6 separate regions of the Homo sapiens genome follow, and all the other regions are linked to region 5. Evidence: promoter capture Hi-C in 16 types of primary human blood cells and fetal thymus (Javierre and others, 2016). All regions are on one chromosome and are shown on one strand. The core of a region is centred on a gene start or on the middle of the fragment in contact, and the rest is flanking DNA. Distances in the headings are between cores, read along the strand shown.

Region 1 (3,735 bases), core at 961-3,460, 560 kb after region 5:
AACTATCAATCCCAGTTTAAGAATGATATTTCTGTAAGAAAACTGCTTTATTTTCCAAGTTGTAGTATTTAACATAGGCTGAGTCACAAATAAGTTTTTAATTGTATCTTAATGCAGTTGTCTCTGCCTTTCAAGTCACTTTGATTGAAACATTTTAAGCAGAACAAATATAGCCAATAATTTAAAATAATCACCCCAAAACCATTTCTCAAACCTGCTAAAACTTTGAGCATGTGAATAATTTTCTCCTCTTCACATTCTTCTTATGTGGGAAGGAAGTGAATTTGAAATATTAAAATCTGCCCTTTGGAATAGGCTACTTTGGCCGTTTATAACTTGATTTCTACTCGGGGAGGAAGGTACATTCCCAATAGCTTTCCAATTGGGATATCCTGTGATATGATTGGCAGGCTGTCCGAGTAGTTACACTTAATAAAATTTGGGTTCGAAAGCAGATTCCTGGAAGTTCAAAAATAACTAAAACAGCCCCGGATAGGTTAGAAAGTGAACTTAAATCATTCTCAGAATTAGAAAATAAGAAGTTATTTTTTATCTTCAAAGATAAAAAGGGGGCCGGGCACGGTGGCTCACGCCTGTAATCCCAGCACTTTGGAAAGCCGAGGCAAGTGGATCACGAGGTCGAGAGATTGAGACCATCCTGGCCAACATGGTGGAACCCCGTCTCTACTAAAACTACAAAAATTAGCCAAGATCACGCCATTGCACTCCAGCCTGGAGACAGTGAGACGCCGTCTCAAAAAAAAAAAAAAAAAAGATAAAAAGAGTTTTGAGCAAGCTCAAAGACCCGTGTGCCAGCAGTCAGATGCCCACGTTGGGTGCACAGGCTAAGGCAGCCGGCCCAATCTGGAAACCAGTCAGGCTTTTGCCAGCCCCTAATCTAGCTGATTGGAACATGTTTGTTGATACACCAGCTCTGTGATTTCTCAGGTTTAGAGAACTCTAGAATTTGATAGAGTGGGCCGGGGGCAGTGGCTCATGCCTGTAATCTCAGCACTTTGGGAGGCTGAGGTAAGCAGATCACGTGAGGTCAGGAGGTTGAGACCAGCCTGGCCAACATGGTGAAACCCCGTCTCTACTAAAAATACAAAAATTAGCCAGGCATGGTGGTGCGCGCCTGTAGTCCCACCTACTTGGGAGGCTGAGGAAGGAGAATTGCTTGAACCTAGGAAGTGGAGGTTGCAGTGAGCCAAGATCACGCCACTGCACTCCAGCCTGGAGTGGACAGAGACTCCATCTCAAAAGAAAAAAAAATTAATTAAATTTGATAGAATGATGATGGGGATAGAGTGTAAATTTGCCAAATTTACCCACGCAACAGACATGATTTTACCTAATACATGTGAATTATGAAGAATAAACTGATGAAAATAGTTTGGGAATATAAAACTTAAGAATACTTGCGCCGGGCACGGCGGCTCACACCTGTAATCCCAGCACTTTGGGAGGCCGAGGCAGGTGGATCACGAGGTCAGGAGTTCAAGACTAGCCTGGCCAAGATGGTGAAACCCCATCTCTATTAAAAATACAAAAATTAGCCGGGCGTGGTTGTGGGCGCCTGTAATCCCAGCTACTCAGGAGGCTGAGGCAGAGAATCGCATGAGCCCAGGAAGCGGAGGTTGCAGTGAGCCGAGATTGCGCCACCGCACTCCAGCCTGGGCGACAGAGTGAGACTCCGTCTCAAAAAAAAGAAAAAAAAAAGAATGCTTTCATCAGCAAAACATTGTAACATTCCCTTTACTTGAGGGCGTCCACAATACCGTAAGGTTGCGTGAACTGTCCTACTGAATCTTCATGGTTGCTTGGATTTTAATCACATCAGAAGAATTTGAGAGCATACCATGGCTGGCAGTCCATAAAAGACTAGTTAGGAACATCAGCTTTTAATCATCGACCCTGCTTTCAGGTTTCATTTTAAACTTATAGAAGAGGGGAAGACATCAGTGTGCTTATTTGGCCTTTACTCTAAATCTTAAAAGGAAGAAAATTTTAATATTTCTTAGTTTGAGCCCAGGTGCGGTGTCTCACGCCTGTAATCACAGCACTTTGGGAGGCCAAGGCAGGCGGATCACTTGAGGTCAGGAGTTCAAGACCAGCCTGCCAACGTGGTGAAACCCTGTCTGTACTAAAAATTAAAAAAAAAAAAAAAAATTAGCCGGGCGTGGTGGCAGTCGCCTGTAGTCCCAGCAACTCCAGAGGCTGAGACAGGAGAATCGCTTGAACCCCAGAGGTGGAGGTTGCAGTGAGCTGAGATGGTGCCACTGCACTCCAGCCTGGGCGACAGAGCCAGACTGCATCTTGTGGGTGTAAAAAAAAAATTTGTAGTTTGAGAGTCAACTTTTTCCTCACAGTTTCTGAAAATGTGGCCCTTTTGATGCTGATTAAAGCTGGTTGTGATTTTAACACCTTAGTAGCCAGAATCGAGACTGTCATGGGGACATTTAAAATCTCACCACACTTGACACCATTCACAAGTAGCCATGTGGCTCAGTCTCCTGAGTGCTCCTGCAGAGTGCAGCTCTGCCAGGCTTTTCTCTAGATAATCTCGTGTGTGTTACTGTAGCAGTTTGAGTTTAAACACAAGAGTTCACTCGGTTAACATGTTCTAACCAGCAAGATTTCTGTTGTTTGCAGGTGCCGTGAGCGATGTGGAGATGCAGGAACACTATGATGAGTTTTTTGAGGTGAGAGAACTGAACTCTGTGACTGATAGACCTGTTGATCTTCTGTATCTGTTTGGAAGGATTTAAAATGTTTCTCTGCTAATAAACATACATGAGTTATATCTAATGACACTTTGTAATGTATAACGAGTCTTAAACCACTGTGGTCTCCCTTCAGGAGGTTTTTACAGAAATGGAGGAGAAGTATGGGGAAGTAGAGGAGATGAACGTCTGTGACAACCTGGGAGACCACCTGGTGGGGAACGTGTACGTCAAGGTAGGAGCCAGGGCGAGACGGCGGCGTGGCCGCTTAGTGTGCCAGGGCCAAGGCCAACAGGCGAAAGCGAGACAGTGGTGCAGCCGCTTAGTGTGCCGGGGCCAAGGCCGACAGAGGATGGGGTGCCTGTCGCCATGCACCTTGAGATCCTGGATGCTCAGGCGCACAGCAGGGCTCAGGTGCACTGGCTCGGCGCCTACCAGCTGCGTCATATGTGGCGGTGGCCAGCCCACACGTGCGCCCAGCCAGCAGAACTGAAGGACGGACCGTACACCACAGCCATCGTTATTTCAGTGTAGAATATTTAGTACCTGTTGGTTTAGAAGCTGTGTGGACTAAGGAAAAGTTAGGTTTACTCACATGTTTGGTTTCTTTTTTCTTTTTTAGTGAATAAAACTTTATTTGCCTACACAGCCATATTTGCTCCTTTAACCAGTTGAATTTGAAAAATGAAGGCAACATTTGGCAAAATCTTGGACTATCTTGAAGTTAATCTCATTGAAAATAAAGGATTTTTCAATTATCCTGTAATACTATTCCACCTTACTATACCTGAGTGTGTATATCTCTCTCTGATATACTTGGATTGGTAATTGAGAAAGTCTTATTAAAGCGTGGATGGCAAGCACTTCTGTTTTTGTCTTTTCAGTTTCGCCGTGAGGAAGATGCGGAAAAGGCTGTGATTGACTTGAATAACCGTTGGTTTAATGGACAGCCGATCCACGCCGAGCTGTCACCCGTGACGGACTTCAGAGAAGCCTGCTGCCGTCAGTATGA
Region 2 (3,434 bases), core at 375-2,874, 780 kb after region 5:
AGGCCGAGGCAGGCGGATCACAAGGTCAGGAGATCCAGAACATCCTGGCTAACATGGTGAAACCCCGTCTCCACTGAAAAATACAAAAAATTAGCCAGGCGTGGTGGCGGGCGCCTGTAGTCCCAGCTACTCAGGAGGCTGAGGCAGGAGAATGGCGTGAACTCGGGAGGTGGAGGTTGCACTTCAGCCTGGGCGACAGAGCGAGACTCCGTCTAAAAAAAAAAAAAAGACTAGTGGGAGTGGCTTCTTGGGCATGGAGAGCACCTGAATCAGATTCTTGAGAAGCCCATAAAGCTTTTAAGGGACTTGTAGTGAACAAAGCACCACCAGCTGCCAAAATGTGGACAGAACAGTTTAGAGTGAAAAAAGGTCTGTGGGCTCACAATTTGCTAATGACAGGAAGGAGGTTGAGAAAGTTTCTCAAAGGGCACATTCTTCAACATGGCCAAGAAGGTGCTGGAAAAGGAGGGACACCCAAGAGGGCAGAGGCAAGAGCTGTGCTGAGATACAGCCTGGGGAGATACTCCCAGGAAGCAGAACTCGGGCCTGGTTAAGACTTCTTATTCTTGTAGGGCCTGAAAACATCTTCCAGTAGGATTTCAGAATTGCTTTGGACCAGTGATTACTGTGTCTCCTCCTCTTCTCATTTTCACATGCAAGTATTTATTGTGGTTATCTGGTCCCGGCTCACCATCATATATTGCGTGCACGGGAGAGAAAATTAATCTTTTTAGTTTGTAAGTCTCTGGATCAAGAGGAGCTGCACCGGACAAGCCAATCTAAAACAGACCGTGAGATCCTAGATTTTGTGCCTGATGCTGGGATTGTAAGAGGCTTTTGGGGATCTTGGGATGAACACTGGAAACTAACCATAGTTTGGGTTGAAAATATCACTACAGTTCGGAGATTTTAAGGCATCTGTGGCTTGTCTAAGTGCAAAGATTCAGTAGGCTTACTTCTAGCGACCTCAGACTTGACGCCACCCGAGACACCCTCACCCATGACCACATCTTGGACATTTTTTTTTTTTTTGAGAGAGAGTCTCGCTCTGTCGCCCTGGCTGGAGTGCAGCGGGGGCGATCTCGACTCACTGCAACCTCCGCCTCCCGGGTTCAGGCAATTCTTCTGTCTCAGCCTCCCAAGTAGTTGGGGCTACAGTCGCACGCCACCACGCCCAACAAATTTTTGTACTTTTAGTAGAAACGGGGTTTCACCATATTGGTCAGGCTGCTCTCGAACTGCTGACTTCATGTGAGCCACGGCCCCCGGTTCATTCACTTCTTGAAGGATCATTTACCAGGCATCTAGTAGCCATCATCAGGTCCTACGTCTCTCCAGCTACCGCGGAAAAAGATCCAGAACCAGCCCTACCCCGTCTAGAGGAAAGGATGAACATTAGGCAAGTACTTGGAATCGTGCGAAGTGCACTCCATCAGATCACCTTGGTGAGTGAACTGCCAAACCCGAAACACCGAAGGCCACCAGCCACAACCCGGAGGGCGGTCACAGCACCTTTCACGCATGCTCAAGGCAGGCTCGTCCTTGAGCATGCGCGGTACGTGGGGTATACGTCATCTCTCGGCGTCTGCGCCTGGCGTCACCGACCGGTGCGGACAGGAAGAGGCTCTGGGCTGGCACATGTGTATGGCGGTGAGGCGGGCGGGTACATGGCGGGCTCTGTGGGACTGGCGTTGTGCGGGCAGACGTTGGTGGTGCGGGGCGGCAGCCGATTCCTGGCCACCTCCATAGCAAGCAGGTGAGGGGGCCTTGGTCTTGGAACAGGGAGACCAGGCTGCGGGCGCGCGTCGGGTCCTGGCGACCCCGCTTCTCCCGCACCGCCTGGTCGCACCCACTCTGGGGTGACCCCGGGGAACTCCGCTCCAGCCCACGAGTCCTCCGCCGCAGTCTCGGCCTGGCCGCGTCTCTGCGCCTGGAGGGTCCGCTTTCGCCGTCCGCTCTCGGCGTCCGCTCCCCGGCTCCGGCGCGCTCCTTGCACTAGATGGCTGGTCTGCGGTGTTCTTGCCCGGTTAGCGCCGCCGGGTCGCTTCCGGTCTCCGCGGCGCCGGCGGGGACCGGGTAGGTAGAGCACGTGGGGCGACGCTGACCAGTCAGCAAGGCCCGGCCGAACACGCTCTGCAGAACTGGGAAGAAGCGGGTCTCGGGTCTCCCTGGTGAGAAGGGAGGGGCTTACTCACTGCGAGCTCACTGACCTCCAAGCGCGCTCCCTCTTTTTGCAGGGTTGTCTGTTCCCTCTTCCCGGCCTGCATCCACTCACCTGGCCTTAATTGCTCCTTAGGGCTCCAAGTCATCTCCGACACTTACCCAACCCAAGGGTGCACGTGGAGCTCGCAGTGCGCACCTCCCTAGTGGCCCTTCGCACGGCTCGGGTTTTGCTTTCCGTAATTTTATTCTCCTTCCTTAGTGTATCGCCAGTGCTAGGACGACGCAGGGGATTTTTAACTTAGTAAATGTTTGTTGATGGAACAGTCCTAACTCAGGACTCTCGGAGCAATTAGTAGTGCTGTCAGTTTCAGCCCCTCGTTTCCTTTCCCAGGTTATTTGTGATTTCATATTTGAAACGGACGACGTGTCTGTCAGATATACTGTATATTTTTTGTTCGTTTGGTTTTAGAAAGCCAATTCGATGTTAAGTTAGGTCTCACAAAAATTGTACTCAGAAACCCGTCACATATCCCAGATGATTTTGTTTTAGAGACTCACGGTCTAATATCTGCCAGAGTGAGCTGTGGATATATTAGACATGATTTGCTTACCTTCAGTCTTTGCATTTTGAGGAAATTCTAGTGGCTGGTGGAGTTTCTGACTTGGAAGACAAGTCCACGGTTCCATATGGAAAGTTTTTTGGTGCACTCGCTTTAAAGGCTATAAATATGTACAAGATACGTGCCAGGGGGTGAGGATGGGATAAACCGAAGTTTAGGTTCAGTATGGAAAATGGGTGATTCTTATGTTGGTAAGTGCCTGGGGTCATGGGAACACTTTCAGGTAGGTGAGATATGTTTCTAAATAGTAATGGCTCTTTGAAATTTGTATACAGAATCCCACTGAACGCTCAACAGTATCAGAACATAATTTCTTTTTTTTCTTTTTTTTTTTTTTTGAGGAGTCTCGCTTTGTCGCCCAGGCTGGAGTGCAGTGGCGCGATCTTGGCTCACTGCAAGCTCCGCCTCCCGGGTTCACGCCATTCTCCTGCCTCAGCCTCCCGAGTAGTTGGGACTGCAGGCGCCTGCCACCATGCCTGGCTAATTTTTTATATTTTTAGTGGAGATGGGGGTTTCACTGTGTTAGCCAGGCTGGTCTCGATCTCCTGACCTCGTGATCCGCCCATCTCGGCCTCCCAAAGTGCTGGGATTACAGGCGTGAACCACCGCGCCCGGCCCGTAATTTCTTATAACCATGTCGCATAGATTTTG
Region 3 (3,863 bases), core at 794-3,293, 530 kb after region 5:
TTACAGATTAGCTGCCTCCTTTATTGTCCTGTACCCAACTCAGATCAGATGGCGCAAAGACCTCATGACGGTTGCATCTTCAGTGGGGAAGATTAAATACACCTTTCTTCTTCTTCTTCTTCTTTTTTTTTTTTTTTGAGACAGAGTCTGGCTCTGTTGTCCAGGCTGGAGTGCAGTGGTGTGATCTTGGCTCACTGCAACCTCCGCCTCCCGGGTTCAAGCAATTCTCCTGCCTCAGCCTCCCGAGTAGCTGGGGTTATAGGTGCCTGCCACCACGCCCAGCTAATTTTTGCATTTTTAGTAGAGACAGGGTTTCACCATGTTAGCCATGCTGGTCTTGAACTCCTGCCCTCAGGTGATCTGCCCACCTTGGCCTCCCAAAGTGCTAGGATTACAGGCATGAGCCACTATGCCTGGCCAAATACACCTTTCTTGAAAGAAAAAGACCACCTCGACTAATCAGACCATTGTAACTATGCATTAAAGCCTAAAGATGTTGAAATTCTGGTAAGCTTCCATAAACTTTATCTATATACATGGTCCCAAACTTCTATACTTCAGAACACTGACTTCCATTCTTTGGAATCTGTGCTTCCTGGATGGCTGGACTTAAACCTTGCACTTGAATAAACTCTCCTTAAACTAGATTCTGGCCCTTTTGACTATTTTAGATTGACACCTGTATGCATACATGTAATGAATCAGGCTACATCTGGCTGCTTGGGGGTCTTGGGAAAGGGAGCACAGCAGTGATACATTGCTGAGGTCATGGGGCTGGAGGCAGCATGGAGGATGGATTGAAGAGTCTCTGAAGTCCTGGGGCAGCACCGTGTCAATGGGCTTCTCGGCACTTCCTCCCACAACACCAGTGCCACACCTAAGCATCTCTCTAATTCAGGGGTCCTCCTGCTCACTGATAAATGTCCTTGAAGCCAGCAGTTAGCAGGCCACAGATATTGCCAGATAGTCTGTGGGGACTCCCCAGGGTCCACATCTCCCCGACATTTCCCCTCCCATTGTCACTGGTATTCAGTCGATTCCAGCAATTTCTCCATCATGCGAGGCAGGCACAATAGGTGCCCCATTTCTAGGTTCAGCATCTCTTCTCTGTGACTTTCTCCTGACTCCACTTTTGGTTGATAAACTTTGAGGGTCAATAATGCGGTTTGCTATCACCTTCTTCTGCCATAGATGGGCTTTATCTCCAGGTTCGGTTTCAAGAATTGTTTTAGGTCAAAGTGCTCGTGCAGTTGTGAAAGGAAAATCTCTTGGGCCCCCAAAATCACGAAGCTAAAGGGAAAAGTCAAACTGGGAGCTGCTTATAGCAAACCTGCCTCCCTTTCTACTGCAAGTCACCCCTCTGCTCACTGAGATAAATGCATATCTGATTGCTTCCTTTGGAGGGGCTCATCAGAAGCTCAAAAGAATGCGACCACTTGTCTCTTATCTACCCATGACCTGGAAGCCCCCTCCGGCTTTGAGTTCCGCTTTTGCTTTGAGTTGTCCCACCTTTCCGGACCAAACCAATGTTCATCTTACATGTGTTAACTGATGTCTCAGGTCTCCCCAAAGTGTCTAAAACCAAGCTGTGCTCCGACCACCTTGGGCACATGTTGTCAGGACCTCCTGAGGCCATGTCACGGGTACACGTCCTCAACCTTGGCAAAATAAACTTTCTAAATTAACTGAGGCCTGTCTCAAATGGTTGGGGTTCACACAGTCAACCAAGCGCACGTTAGTGGAACTGTCCATCCTGTCCGAGCATTTGTGACTGTGTGAATGGCAGCCTTGTGAGTGAACTTAGTCAGGAAGCCCTGCTTTCTGTTAATGGCAGGATTCCCCCTTCCCCCCAAAAAATCATTTATATTCACTCTTATTGGAGTGTAAAACTCCCTTCACAAATCGTGGAAAGTAAATGTCAGAAACATTGCTTTTCAAAAGACTTTCAGGAAAGGAATGTGTGGAGCAGCTGTGCAGAAATAACAAAATGTTCGTTTTTCTTCCAGACCAGCTTATCTGCAGTGAATTCCTGGCACTGATACAAAGGATTATTAAACCATGCAGAAAACATGGCTCGAGTTCCCAGTATATGTTCCCTTGCATACTAGCATACACCGTTCACACCAGTGGCTTTTTCCAACCACAACTAGCTTTGGCCAGCATCATCTCGTGCCTTTCCTCCTGGACGCCTGTTGTGACTCTCCGCAACCATCCTGCCTGTCTAGAAAGGAGCACAGGTGAAGCTGCCTGACTCATCAGCTACACAAACTTGTTCTGACTTAGGTTTTGTTGTTTTTTGGCTTTCAGACAGGGTCTCTCTCTGTCACCCAGGCTGAAGTGCAGTGGCACCATCTTGGCTCACTGCAGCCTCAACCTCCCTGGGCTCAGTGATCCTCCTACCTCAGCCTCCAGAGTAGCTGGGACTACAGGCATGCACCACCATGCTTGGCTAATTTCTGTATTTTTTGCAGAGATGGGGTTTTGCCACGTTGGCCAGACTGGTCTCAAATTCCTGGGCTCAAGCAATCCACTTGCCTTGGACTCCCAAAGTGCCGGGATCGCAGGCGTGAGCCACCGCGCCTGGTTGAGACTAAGGTTTTCAGAGGATACAAATCCATCAATGTAATTTTCAGCTGTTTCCTGATCAGGAAAGAAGCCTTTCCACCACAGCTATGCAGATTGTTTTACACCATGACACTTCTTGAATATTCATGCTCACCTTTAAAGTTCAGTTCTTCCTGCTGTATTCCAGCTTCTTTCATAACCAACAAACCACTCCTTGGCATACAGTGACTACTTCATTGCCAATTCCGTTCCATCCATTCCTGGTCAAGATCTCTCTCCCTACACCACACCCCACTGACCCTGTGTTTTCCATATTTCAATGGCTCTTGGTAATCACAATTATTATAAATTTTCAACTGTTTGTCTTTTTTTTAATAGAGAGGGGATCTTGCTATGTTGGCCAGGTTGGTCTTGAACTCTTGACCTCAAGCAATCCTCCCACCTCAGCCTCCCAAAGTGCTAGGATTATAAGCATGAGCCACCACGCACAGCCCAACTGCTTGTCTTTTGATGGCTTCCCAACATCACTGATGCTTTCTGCACTATTGACAAAGAGAGTGTTTCCATGTGTCCTTCCCACAGTGAGCACTGGGTACATGCTACCCTTTTTGTATGAATTCACAGTGCAATTAAACCCATGGTCACAAAAAGACAAATGCATTTTAAAAATTAAAACATATACATTGTCAGCAACCAGCAGAGGTGCCTGTAACAGAGGGAGTGTTGGGATGCTGCCAACACCTTGGGTCAGGTCAGCTTTTGCAAATTTTGGCACCAAGTTTACAGAAAAAAAAAAAAAGTCCTTTTCATTTTCACAGCTTTTTGCTTTTTGGAATGCTGACAAGGGCCTGTGGGTCTGTTCCATCATGGAATCAGGATGAAAAGACAGAATTGGAGTCCTCAAAGCAACCCCAGTCTAGTAGGACAGAGATGTCAACACCGCATTAGAGCATCATTCAACAAGGGCAGTTTCTGATGCCTCATGGGCACCTACTAAGTGCCAAGCTTCGTCCACTCCTCAAAGGCAGGTTGGCTGATCCTATTAGCCAATGGAAACCCTGAGTCTAGAGAACTTCATAATGCAGGTCATGCAGCAGGAAGTGGCAAAGCAGGATAGCAGATCCAGGTCTGTTCAACCTTTGCAGGTAAGGAGGGGAAGCTGTTGAGAACCCAAAATGCATTGCACATCTGGGAGGGGGATGACTCCAAGGAGGCCTCAAGGGCCAAACTGGAATGCTGGGAAGGAGGGAGTGGGCATGGGTCCTGGAAGAACACACTGTGCACAGGCAGGAGGCTCC
Region 4 (3,446 bases), core at 642-3,141, 550 kb after region 5:
AGCTGTACTTTTCCTTATGAGGAAACGGCTTTGTATGCTCTCTGTAATAAAATGGGGCTTCTTTGAAAAAAAAAAAAAGAAATTTTGATTTAAAGGTCATCCAGCCTCTGGCTGTCCAAACCTCCCGAAATTGCTCCTGGGGATAACATCACCATTGTAATCCGAAGATCAGTGCTTGAGGTATTTATTCTGCAAGACCCTGTACTCTATGGATCAGCTGATACCACACAGACCGGCTATCTGGCTCAGCCAGTTCTGCCATTGTACCCAGGAACAGAAGACAGCAAGGAAACCTCACTTTGACCTCCCTGTGATTCCATCTCCAGCCAGATCAATCAGCACTCCTACTTCCTGAGCCGCCAAATTATCTTTAAAAACTCTGATCTGCAAATTCTTGGGATGTCTAATTTGAGTAATAATAAAACTCCAGTCGCCCGCACAGGTAGCTCTGTGTAAATTACTCGTTCTGCATTGCAATTCCCCTGTCCTGATAAATCCGCTCCATCTAGGCAGCCGGCTAGGTGAACTCACTGGGTGGCTACAAAAGCCAGAAGACTCAGCAAGCCAGCTTCTCCCACCCTCCTCCACCTGCTTTGTTCCAGCCACACTGTCAGCCAATCGGATGGTGCCCACCCACACTGAGGGTGGGTCTTCCTCTCTCAGTCCACTGACTCCAATGTCAATTTCCTCTGGCAACACCCTCACAACACACCCAAGAACAATACTTTACCATCCTTCAATCCAATCAGGTTGACAGCTAATATTAACCATCACAGGGTCTTTTCAACTTAGCTTGTTTCTCTATTAGATTACTGACTTCAGGGTGAAGCCCTTTAATGAATAGGGCAAAGGAGGCATTCTCTATGCCTGGAATCAGCATGGATAGCTCTGAAAAGAAGCAAGCCTACTTTACCTGCTTGAGGGCCTACTTTTAACTTTTTATAAACACTTTATCCAACTTATTACATATAAAAAAAGAAAAAACTTGGCCGGGTGCGGTGGCTCATGTCTGTAATCCCAGCACTTTGGGAGGCCAAGGTGGGTGGATCACCTGAGATCAGGAGTTCAAGACCAGCCTGGCCAACATGGTGAAACTTTGTCTCTACTAAAAATACAAAATTAGCCAGGTGTGGTGGTGCATGCATGTAATCCCAGCTACTTGGGAGGCTGAGGCAGGAGGACCGCTTGAACCTGGCAGGCCGAAGTTGCAGTGAGCCGAGATCAGGCCATTACACTCCAGCCTGGGCAATGAGAGCGAAACTCCATCTCAAAAAAAAAAAACGAAATGGACATTTTCAAGTTACTCACAAAACCAGTGAGACTTAACCAAGGTAAATTAGCCAGGTGTGGTGGCATGCACCTGTCATCCCAGCTACTCGGGAGGCTAAGGCAGGAGAATTGCTTCAACCCAGGAGACAGAGGTTGCAGTGAGCCAAGATCGCACCACTGCACTCCAGCTTGGGTGACACAGCGAGACTCCATCTCAAAAACAAAGATTTAACCAAGGTAATGGCATAACGAAGGTCATGACTTAACCAAGGCTGAACCAAGCATCTCCAAAGAAATGCAAAGCAGTCTTCCTAAGCGTCAGAACCACTCTAAAGACAGCTCAGAAAAAGAAATCTTGCTGCTCACACCTGTAATCCCAGCACTTTGGGAAGCTGAGGTGGGTGGATCACTTGACGTCAGGAGTTCGAGACCAGCCTGGCCAACATGGTGAAACCCCATCTCTACTAAAAACACAAAAATTAGCCAGGCGTGGTGGTGAGCACCTGTAATCCCACCTACTTGGGAGGCTGAGGCAGAAGAATTGACTGAACCTGAGAGGTGGAGGTTGCAGTGAGCTTAGACCATGCCATTGCACTCCAGCCTGGGTGACGAGAGCGAAACTCCATCTCAAAAAAAAAAAAAAAAAAAAAAGAAGGCCAGGCGCGGTGGCTCACACCTGTAATCCCAGCACTTTGGGAGGCCGAGGCAGGCAGATCACCTGAGGTCAGGAGTTCAAGACCAGCCTGGCCAACATGGTGAAACCCTGTCTGTACTAAAAATACAAAAAATTAGCTGGGCGTGGTGGTGGGCACCTATAATCCCAGCTACTCGGGAGGCTGAGGCAGGAGAACTGCTGGAACCTGGAAGGCGGAGGCTGCACTGAGCCGAGATCATGCCACTGCACTCCAGCATGGGCAACACAGCAAGACTCCGTCTCAAAAAAAAAAAAAAAAAACAGGACTGGAAATTGAACCCAGGCTGCAAACATAGCCTCATGTTTGTAGAGACTCATAGCCTCTGGCCCACAGGCTGGAGCACTGACAAACCCTGCAGGGGCTCCAGAGCAGGCAGTTTGAGCATTTAAAGGGTTTTGACTTGTTTCAGATCTGATCTCAGCTGAACTAATTCCCTGGATGTTAGCATTTTATTTTTTTAATTTCCCTCCCTCCTTCCCTCCCTTCCTTTCTCTTTTTCTTTTTCTTTTTGGCAGCATCTCGCTCTGTCGCCCAGGCTGGAGTGCAGTGGCACCATCTCAGCTTACTGCAACCTCCACCTACTGGGTTCAAGCGATTCTCCTGCCTCAGCCTCCCGAGTAGCTGGGAATACAGGTACATGCCACCACATGTGTTTTTAGTAGAGATGGGGTTTCACCATGTTGGCCAGACTGGTCTTGAACTCCTGACCTCATGTGATCCACCAGCCTTGGCCTCCCAAAGTGTTGGGATTACAGGCTTGAGCTAACATTTCTTTTCTGGCCTATTTCTTTTATTTTTTATTTTTTATTTTTGTTGTTGTTGTTGTTTTGGGTTTTTTTGAGACGCAGTTTCCTTCTTGTCGCCCAGGCTGGAGTGCGATAGCGCCGTCTCGGCTCACTGCGACCTCTGCCTCCCGGATTCAAGTGATTCTCCTGCCTCAGTCTCCCAAGTAGCTGGGATTACAGGAGCCCGCAGCCACTCCCCGCTAATCTTTTTTTATTTTTAGTAGAGACGGGTTTTCACCCTGTTGGCCAGGCTGGTCTCGAACTCCTGACCTCAGGTGATCTGCCCAATTTGGCCTCCCAAAGTGCTGGGATTACAGGTGTGAGCCACCGCACCCAGTCTGTTCCAAATTTAAATATACTTTCCCCTTTTTGAGAGAAGGAAATGTGTGCATTGTGGAATTCCAAAAACACTGCTTAAGAGATGTATGGGAGCTGAGGGAACAGGCAGAAAGAGATGAGTTTAGATCATCCCAGAGGCAGAAGGAGAAGCAGCAGCTGGAAACAAACAGGAGAAAGCCTCCATGGTCTTTTTGTTTGTTTGTTTTTGTTTTTGTTTTGAGACAGAGTCTCACTCTGTCACCCAGGCTGGAGTACAGTGGCGCCATCTTGGCTCACTGCAACCTCCGCTTCCTGGGTTTCATGTGATTCTCTGCCTCAGCCTCCCAAGTAGCTGGGATTACAGGCGCCCGCCACCATG
Region 5 (3,909 bases), core at 604-3,103:
GAACTTTTTTTGGCATCCTGAGTGTGAGGTGCCAGGTAGAGAAGCCAGGCTAGCAAGGCACATCCGAGCTGCAAGTAGGAATGGGCTGGGACAACAATTTAGGTTTAGAAACCACCAGCATATATGGGGTACCTGGAACTGTGAGACTAAACAAAATCTCTTGGGGAGATTCTTAACAGAATCAAAGTCAGGAATTTTGGTCTTTATTCCTTTTTCTATCAGACTTCCCAGGAAAGTGTATTTTCTTTTTTTGGGTAGTCTGGTGATTTCTCTTAAAAATAAAACAAACTGAGAATGTCAGTGATGGGGGAGATAATATCTGTTCTTTTAAGCAGATTCTAAATGTATTAGTACCATCAGTAACTAAATAAAACTTTATCTTAAAACCTCTATTACACATTGTAGTTCATATTGTATGGGCTCACTCAAGAGTTTATAGAAAGTATTTTTGGATCAGGTAAATGAAATCATCCAACAGCAGTGCCGTTAAAATCTAAACTACAAAGCCCTGTGTGATCTGGCCACTGCCTACATCTCCAACTTCATCTCATAACACTCGCCCCCCCAACCCCAACTTATTGGTCTTTCAAACCACTCCTAGGGCACGTGAAGCTCTTTCCTGCCTCTGCATAGGCGGTTTCCGCTCATTTCTCTTCAGATCTGAGCTGATTATCAGCCCAGAGAGGCCTTCCCAGAACAGCCTATCAAGAAGAGCAACCTCCTTCCCTTTTTGCTATTATCTGGTTTTCTTTTTCCTTTTTTCTTTTCTTTTCTTTTTGAGACGGAGTTTCGCTCTTGTTGCCCAGGCCGGAGTGCAATGCTGCGATCTCGGCTCACCGCAACCTCCGCCTCCCAGGTTCAAGCGATTCTCCTGCCTCAGCCTCCCGAGTACTGAGATTACAGGCATGCGCCACCATGCCCGGCTAATTCTGTATTTTTAGTAGAGCCGGGGTTTCACCATGTTGGTCCGGCTGGTCTCGAACTCCCGACCTCAGGTGATCCGCCCGCCTCGGCTTCCCAGAGTGCTGGGATTACATGCGTGAGACACCGCGCCCGGCCTGCTACCTGGTTTTCATTTCCTTTACTACACTTACACAAGGTCTACTTTATTTGCCTGTTTGCCTCCTTGCTTTATTACTAATAGATCCTCGAGGGTAGTGATTTTGTCTGTCTTCTCTCCTGCAGCCCCGTCACGTAAAGGTGCTGGTCAAAGGAAGGCGGCAATCACCGACCGGACACCAGGGCAAATCAGGGCAGCCCAGTGATTCGAGATGCCGGCTGGGGAATCGGACCCATGTGGGTCTTTTCTCAGCTTCCCCGCTTACTGTGACTTTCATAAGTAACGGAACCCCCTCAACCCGTTTCCTTAAGTGTAAAAAGGCACTAGACACAGCAAGAAGCGGTTCCGGCAGCGCGGAAACCGAAGCACACGCTGGGTGTCACGACAACACGTGGAAGCCGCATTCCGTGCCGGGGCCCTGGCCCTAGCCCCAGCCCCGGCCCCCGGCCCGCCATGTGGCGCGGCTGACCGCGGCCGTGCGCCCACCTGTCTCCCTCTGCGTCTTCACGCTGATGTACTGGCGCAGCTTCTTCACCGCTCGGTCCCGGATGCCCTTCTCGCTGGACGCCAGCCGCTGGGCAAATTGGATCTCGGCCGGCTGCATGGCGGGGGCCATCGCGCCCGCTGGAGCATCCCCGGCCGCGCAACCCGCGGTGCCGCTGCAGCCAGCCGAGCGCTGCGGAGCAGCCAGCCACCGTCCGCCCGGGCCGCGACTGCACAGAAGGCGGCGGCGGCGGCGCGCGGGCTGATGGCGTCACAAAGGCGCCGCGGCTCGCAGCGCGCTCTGGGAGTGAGCGCGGCAGTGGCCCTGGCAGCTGGCGGAGCGGCCCAGCCCGTGTGCACGTGGCGCCGGCGCTGCCTTTCGGTTGCCAAAATTCAGGCTGTAGACGGCGAGGTTAGCCAGGGTTAGGACTTGACCAGGAAGAGACGGAAGGCTGTTTGTAAACGGTCTAGGATTTTTTGTTTGTTTTTGAGACAGGGTCTCCCTCTGTCGCCCAGGCTGGAATGCAGTGGCGCGATCTTGGCGGTGATCCTGGCTCACTGCAGCCTCGACCTCCCAGACTCGATCGATCCTCCCATCTCGACCGCCCAAGTAGCTGAGACTACAGGCGCGCGCCATCACGCCCCACTATTTGTTATTTTTTTGTAGAGACGGTGTCTCGCTATGTTGCCCAAGCTGGTCTCAAACTCCTGGGCTCAAGCAATCCTCCCGCGGCGGCCTCCCTGATCGCTGGGATTACAGGCTTGAGCCGCCGCGCCTGGCCACGGTCCAGGATCTTTAATCCCATTTAGCACACCTCGTTGAGCCAGCAGCTTACCTGCGATCTCCGTGGCGTGGAGTTTTTAACTGTGGAGCCCCCGGGCCCCCGGGTGGAGTTGAGACTGGAAGGAAAGGCCGGCACTGGGGCCTGTTGAGCGGGTGGAGGGCTCGCCTTCCTCCAGTGCCTGCAGAGGCTTGGGCAGATCGGTGCGCCCCTACCCCGGAGCCCTGGTGCCAGTGCAAGGGCGCCCGCGCAGGCGTCCCGAGGCCTGGCGAGCACGCGCGCTTCCAGGGGAGTTGGGCAGGGCGGGCTGCTTGCTAATTCCAGAGAGGGAAGAAATCTTAGCTTTGGGTTCATCTAAAACCCGAGGCCATCCTATATTTTGCGGACTCAGCGGGCGTGCTGGGGCAAGTTAATGGACTAGGTCACTCCACACGTAGCGGGGGTTATCTCAGTTGCTCCGCTCAGTTGTCTAGGCGACCTCCCGAGGTGCCTGTTGACACAAAAATTCAACCCTTAACGTAAAAGCGCCTGAATCCGAGCGAGGGAAGGCGCGCGGAGGCGAGGTTTCCAGCAAAGACTGCCCATTTGAACGCAGTCCCCCTTAGTGTAGCATTCCTCGCCAAACAGGAAAGGACCCATCCGATTTATTTTACTTGACACTTACATCAGGGGCTGACTTTCCTTCTGCTTTGCAGATAACAAGTTTAAAACCCCGGCTAAGCCAGAAGAGCCAAAGAGGGACCTCGCCAAGGCCACTCCTCGCTCTCTAGGCCGAGAATACTGCGCAAATTCTGGGAGGTTTGGGCCTGGCGGCTCTCCGTTCCCGACCCCCGGCGTGGATTCGTTCCCGCGCTTTCTGGCGTGAGGGGTCAGAGGGCGCGCCGACGCTCAGGCGAACGGAGCGGAGGCGGCAGCGGCCATGGGCGAAGCGGGCGCCGCTGAGGAGGCCTGCCGGGTTAGTGAGGAAGCCCTGGCCGACGCCAGCGTGTTTGAACCGTCGCCATTCGCTCCCCTCAGGGCCTCGCCCCGTGCGCTCGGAGACGGCTCGCTGTCGCGTGCTTGGGGGAAGCCTGGAGACTTCCTCCCCTAACGGCGTGGGCTGGGCCGGAGCGGGGTGGAGACCTGGGGCGGGAGGCGACTTCGCCTCCAAACCCACGCGGGGACCCGGTCTGTGAGGCTGCGCGTGGTGGGGGCACTCAGTGGCGCCAAAGCGGGCATGGGAGCGTGGGATGGATGGTCACTCTCTTCTCTGCTCCGTGGAAGCCCAGTTCCCCTCCGAAGGCCCTGGCCCCCTGCTTCGGGACTTAGCGTCAGGCTTAGAGAGAATCTGCCCTCCATCGATTTTATAACTGTAACTGATTGCATGCGATGGAGAAGGCGCTTGGACTGGGGCCAGATCCGTGTTCACATCCTGCTTCCACCCGTTATTAATTGTGCTGCATTGAGAGTCATCTAGCTCCCGTGCCTTAATTTCCATCTAGACAATCTTGGAGGCTTGGGGTGAATAGTAGATGAGATCACGGGCGGAGGGCTTGGCAAACCCAGTAGGAAACCAGATGACTTCCTTTTCCTCCTGATTAGTTT
Region 6 (3,884 bases), core at 1,363-3,862, 580 kb after region 5:
CTTGACCTCGTGATGCGCCCGCCTCAGCCTCCCAAAGTGCTGGGATTACAGGTGTGAGCCACAGCTCAGCAACCATTTTAATAAAAATCAATTCAGACAAAATCATCAGTAAGTGTTAAAACTAGAGAGTGGGCTGGCTGCAGTGGCTTACCCCTGTAATCCCAGCACTTTGGGAGGCCGAGGCAGGTGGATCACCTGAGGCCACGAGTTCGAGACCAGCCTGTCCAACATGGTGAAACCCCGTCTCTACTTAAAAAAAAATACAAAAAATAGCCAGGTGTGGTGGCAGGCACCCGTAATCCCAGCTACTTGGGAGGCTGAGGCAGAAGAATCGCTTGAACCCGGGAGAGGGAGGTTGCAGTGAGCCGAAATCACACCACTGCACTCCAGCGTGGGGGGGAGGTTGCAGTGAGCTGAAATCACACCACTGCACTCCAGCGTGGGTGACAGAGAAAGATTCTGTCTCAAAAAGAAACAAAACAAAACAAAATAACAAGTTAGAGAAACCAGATAGACTGAGTGACAGATTCATACACACCTGCACACGTGTGTGTGTGTGTGTGTGTGTGTGTGTGTGTGTGGAGAGACAGAGAGGGAGCAAATGTAGTAAAAACTTAACATTTGAAATAACAATGAGTTTCTGATAATAGAAGCAAAAAAAATTAATATTTGGAAAATCTGGATGAGGGAATATGACATTCTGTATGGTTCTTGCCACTTTTCTAATCTAAAATTACGTTAAAATTTCTAAAAAATTAAAAAGTATTTGGGCTGTGTAACAAATTACTGCAAACTTGAGTGGTTTAAAACAACACACATTGGGCTGGGCGCGGTGGCTCACTCCTGTGAGCCTAGCACTTTTGGGAGGCCGAGGCGGATGGATCACCTGATGTTAGGGGTTCGAGACCAGCTTGGTCAACATGATGAAACCCCGTCTCTACTAAAAATACAAAAATTAGCCTGGCATGGTGGTGCGTGCCTGTAATCCCAGCTACTCGGGTGGCTGAGGCAGGAGAATCGCTTGAACCCGGGAGGCTGAGGCTGCAGTGAGCCAAGATCTCACCATTGCACTCCAGCCTGTGTGACACAGACTCTGTCTCAAACAACAACAACAAAAACAACACCGTTTATCATCTTTCTCTCCCGCAGGCTGGCTGAAGGCTCTGAGGGAGGCCCTGGCCACCTTTCCCAGCCCTGTGGAGGCCGCCAGCCATCCCTGCCATTTCTCGTCTGGTGGCAGCACATCTCATCTCTGCCGCCATCTCCACATGGCCTTTTTCTCTCCGCGTGTCTGTGTCCACGTCTCTCTTCTTATAAAGACTGGACAGGATTTTTTTTTTTTTTTTTTTTTTTTTTTTTTTTTCTGGAGACAGTCTCGCTCAGTCGCACAGGCTGGAGGACAGTGGCGCGATCCCGGCCTCCAATGCCACCTTCCAGAGCCTTCATGATGTAACTCCATCCCTGTCCCCTCCCCACATCGCCGGCTTTATTGTTCTTCGTGTCAGTTCCTGCCAGTGGACATTTAATTCTAATTCACGTCTCACTCCCTCCCCTACTGTGAGCCCCACGTGGCAGAGACCGCGGCGGAGCTGCGCGGGCCGGAGGAGGCTGCGGAGCATCGCTCTGACCTGAGCCGGGGACGCTGCGGAGGCGCAGCACGTTCCTCTGCCCAGAGCTGATGGGCACCGTCCGTGTCTTTCGCTGCAGGTCCGGGGGGAGACTCGGGGGCCTGGGATCCCCCATTTAGCCATAGGGCGGGGGGATCAGGTTCAGCCTCTGAAAGTCCAGAGCACGATGTTTGGGAAACGGCCCCGCCCGCGGCCTCCGGGACCTGGCGAAGGAGCCCCGCGGGGCGCCCCTGCTACCACCCTGCGCGGAGTCGGCCCCGTCCCCGAGAGCGCCCGGCAGCCCCTGGCCGTGGGCCGCACCGGAGCCGCGCAAGGCGACTGTTCTGCGCCTCGGCTCGGGGTTCGGACCCGGCTCTGGGCGCGGTCACGCGGGGCGCTGCGCACGGCGTCCGGCGGCCACAGAGCGCGGCCATCGAGTCCCGCCCCGGCGCGGCGCCCCCTCCCGGGCCCGCGACACACGCCCTCGGGGTCGGTCCTCGAGGACGCGCAGGGCCCCCCACCCACCAGGACGCACGTTTCAAGCTCATCAGTAAAGGTTCCTTAAATTCCCGAAGGGCAAGAAGTTAACCAAGTAAAACAGCATCGGAACACCAGGTAGAAGACACCACCGGGGTCCGCGGGTGGGGGTGGCTGGAACCCGGGGCGGGCGGGCTCAGGCGAAGAGGAAGGCGGGGGAGGGGGCGGCGACCCGGGTCTGCGGTTGAATCAACAGGGCGTGGGAATGGGGCGGGCGGACTGGGGTGGGGGCATGCCGGGGTCCCGGGGAGGGCGGGGGTCGGGCAGGCCGGAGGGTCCCAGGCTGCGGCGGGGTGGGGAAGGGGTGGGGGGGAGGGGCCCGGGCTGGGTGGGGTGGAGGAGGGGCTGGGGGGGCGGGTGCTCTGCCACGAGACATTGGCCGGCGCCGGCCTCCGCCCCCGCCTCTCCGCCAATCACCGCCCGCCTGCTCCCCTCGCCGTGGGTCCCCGCGAGGCCGCCACCCCGGGGTCGCCGTCTCCGCCTCGCCGCAGTCGGGGCAGCCGCTCGCCCCTCTTTTCCATGTATCCGTCCAGGTGAGATCCGGCCCCACCGAGACTCGCTCCCCTCTCTGGACAGAGGATCTCAACTGGGTCCCGGTTTCCCTCTCCGCGCCTCCGCCCAGAGTTGCATCATCTGCACCGAAAGGCGGCGAGACAGGGTCTCCCAAGACCCCCGCCCCACCGGCGCCCACGCCTGCGGTCTTGACCGCCCAGAAGATGGGGGCTGGCCGTGCACGTGGCCCCGGGCTCCCACCCCAGCCCCCGCGCCGGCGGAGTGGACCCCACTGGCGGCGAGTCCTGGAGCGTGGAGCAGGGACGCGGGGTGGGAATCCGGGGGAGATGCACGTTTCGGTGCCCAGCATTGAGTTCGCTGCATTGTGGATGGGAAATGGCTGTTTGCAAATCGCCCTTTTTGGCGGACCGTGTGGGGTGGCGGTAAACGCTGTCGTTGCGCGGGCGGCACGCGAGGTGGGTGCCCGCTGGGGGAGGGACGCGGGGCTCTGCCCAGGTTGCGTTCGGGGGATGGAGGTTTTCCTGGGACCTCACTTCCCTGAGCCCCAGGCGAGACCGCAGCTGAGCTGTAGGATGCAAGCGGGAGGCGGAGCGTGGGTGGGAGAGCGGAGCGCGAAATTCTCGGCTTCCCGAGGATCTTCTGGGCTTACTTGTCCCCAGCTTTGTCCCAAAGTGTCGCTTCCGGAGGCGGAGTGGCCGGCGGTTTCCGGGTCTCAGTAGGGTCTGGATCTCCCACCTGGAAACCTAGAGGAGTTTCCCGCTCTCCGTGCGCGTGGCCTTCCCCAGGCCCCTCCGGGAGTGCTGGCGCGCGAGTGCAGGGGTGCCCCGGGAACGTCGTGACCCCAAGGGGGTCTTGTGGTTTAAGGAGCGAACGGAACCGGCCAGGCGATGCCAGCTGAACCCGCCTTCCCGGGACGCACGTGCATCCGGCCGCCCGGCGCTGTTGTCTTGGGGAGCCCGCGGGTTCGGGTCTGGGTCGCCTGGCGAGCTTTCCGCCGAGCGCCTCTGAGTTCTACAGAGCCCCGACGGCTTGCGATCTGCGTTCCCGGCAGTCCCTTACCTTGCGAGAGAGGGCTCCAGGGCGAGGCGAGGGGCCAAAAGCAAGGCGCTGGGCCGCCTGCGTCTGCCGGGGCCTCGGGTCCACGGCTTTCTGGAAGATTCGGCGGCGGAGCATGCGCGCCCCAGGCCAGACAGGGCCTGTGCCAGACGGAGAGTCCCTTCCCGTAGG

The links. The method cuts DNA at HindIII sites, captures the fragments that hold promoters and counts their contacts. A CHiCAGO score of 5 or more calls a contact.
Region 1: a fragment that was not itself captured here is called in contact with the fragment with the promoter of HSF2BP in region 5 in 2 of 17 cell types (M1 macrophages and M2 macrophages); the score reaches 5.8 in M1 macrophages.
Region 2: the fragment with the promoter of WDR4 here is called in contact with the fragment with the promoter of HSF2BP in region 5 in 3 of 17 cell types (fetal thymus, M0 macrophages and total B cells); the score reaches 6.6 in fetal thymus.
Region 3: a fragment that was not itself captured here is called in contact with the fragment with the promoter of HSF2BP in region 5 in 9 of 17 cell types (M0 macrophages, endothelial precursors, M1 macrophages and 6 more); the score reaches 11.0 in M0 macrophages.
Region 4: a fragment that was not itself captured here is called in contact with the fragment with the promoter of HSF2BP in region 5 in 12 of 17 cell types (M1 macrophages, naive CD8 T cells, total CD8 T cells and 9 more); the score reaches 9.9 in M1 macrophages.
Region 6: a contact is called between the fragment with the promoter of CBS here and the fragment with the promoter of HSF2BP in region 5, in 2 of 17 cell types (total CD8 T cells and total B cells). The highest score is 5.3, in total CD8 T cells.

Annotation. Positions count from the first base shown.
Region 1 is chr21:43,094,661-43,098,395 of GRCh38, reverse strand. U2AF1 (U2 small nuclear RNA auxiliary factor 1) reads left to right here. Exons shown (of 8, transcript NM_006758.3): 4 at 2,653-2,702; 5 at 2,860-2,958; 6 at 3,608-3,735. Among named protein-coding and RNA genes, the nearest start is that of U2AF1, 11 kb to the left of the region's middle. The HindIII fragment of the contact is 4,462 bases long and covers 1-3,735 here.
Region 2 is chr21:42,877,729-42,881,162 of GRCh38, reverse strand. It overlaps WDR4 (WDR4 tRNA N7-guanosine methyltransferase non-catalytic subunit), which reads left to right and starts at 1,624. Exons shown (of 11, transcript NM_018669.6): 1 at 1,624-1,756. The coding sequence starts at 1,668. It overlaps LOC105372817 (a long non-coding RNA gene), which reads right to left and starts at 1,451. Exons shown (of 4, transcript XR_937765.3): 1 at 1,408-1,451. RefSeq lists enhancers at 1,372-1,721, 1,792-1,901, 1,932-1,981, 1,634-2,598, 2,599-3,434. The HindIII fragment of the contact is 4,183 bases long and covers 297-3,434 here.
Region 3 is chr21:43,128,507-43,132,369 of GRCh38, reverse strand. The region is part of intron 3 of LOC101928369 (a long non-coding RNA gene); the gene reads right to left. Among named protein-coding and RNA genes, the nearest start is that of FRGCA, 11 kb to the left of the region's middle. The HindIII fragment of the contact is 3,058 bases long and covers 515-3,572 here.
Region 4 is chr21:43,111,835-43,115,280 of GRCh38, reverse strand. All of the region lies in intron 2 of LOC101928369 (a long non-coding RNA gene), which reads right to left. It also overlaps the pseudogene MRPL51P2. Among named protein-coding and RNA genes, the nearest start is that of U2AF1, 6.0 kb to the right of the region's middle. The HindIII fragment of the contact is 4,508 bases long and covers 1-3,446 here.
Region 5 is chr21:43,657,432-43,661,340 of GRCh38, reverse strand. HSF2BP (heat shock transcription factor 2 binding protein) reads left to right here and starts at 1,853. Exons shown (of 9, transcript NM_007031.2): 1 at 1,853-1,955; 2 at 3,021-3,280. The coding sequence starts at 3,245. It overlaps RRP1B (ribosomal RNA processing 1B), which reads right to left and starts at 1,781. Exons shown (of 16, transcript NM_015056.3): 1 at 1,547-1,781. The coding sequence starts at 1,676. RefSeq lists an enhancer at 789-838 and a silencer at 1,559-1,748. The HindIII fragment of the contact is 5,137 bases long and covers 1-3,909 here.
Region 6 is chr21:43,074,563-43,078,446 of GRCh38, reverse strand. CBS (cystathionine beta-synthase) reads left to right here and starts at 2,612. Exons shown (of 17, transcript NM_000071.3): 1 at 2,612-2,677. The HindIII fragment of the contact is 28,872 bases long and covers 1-3,884 here.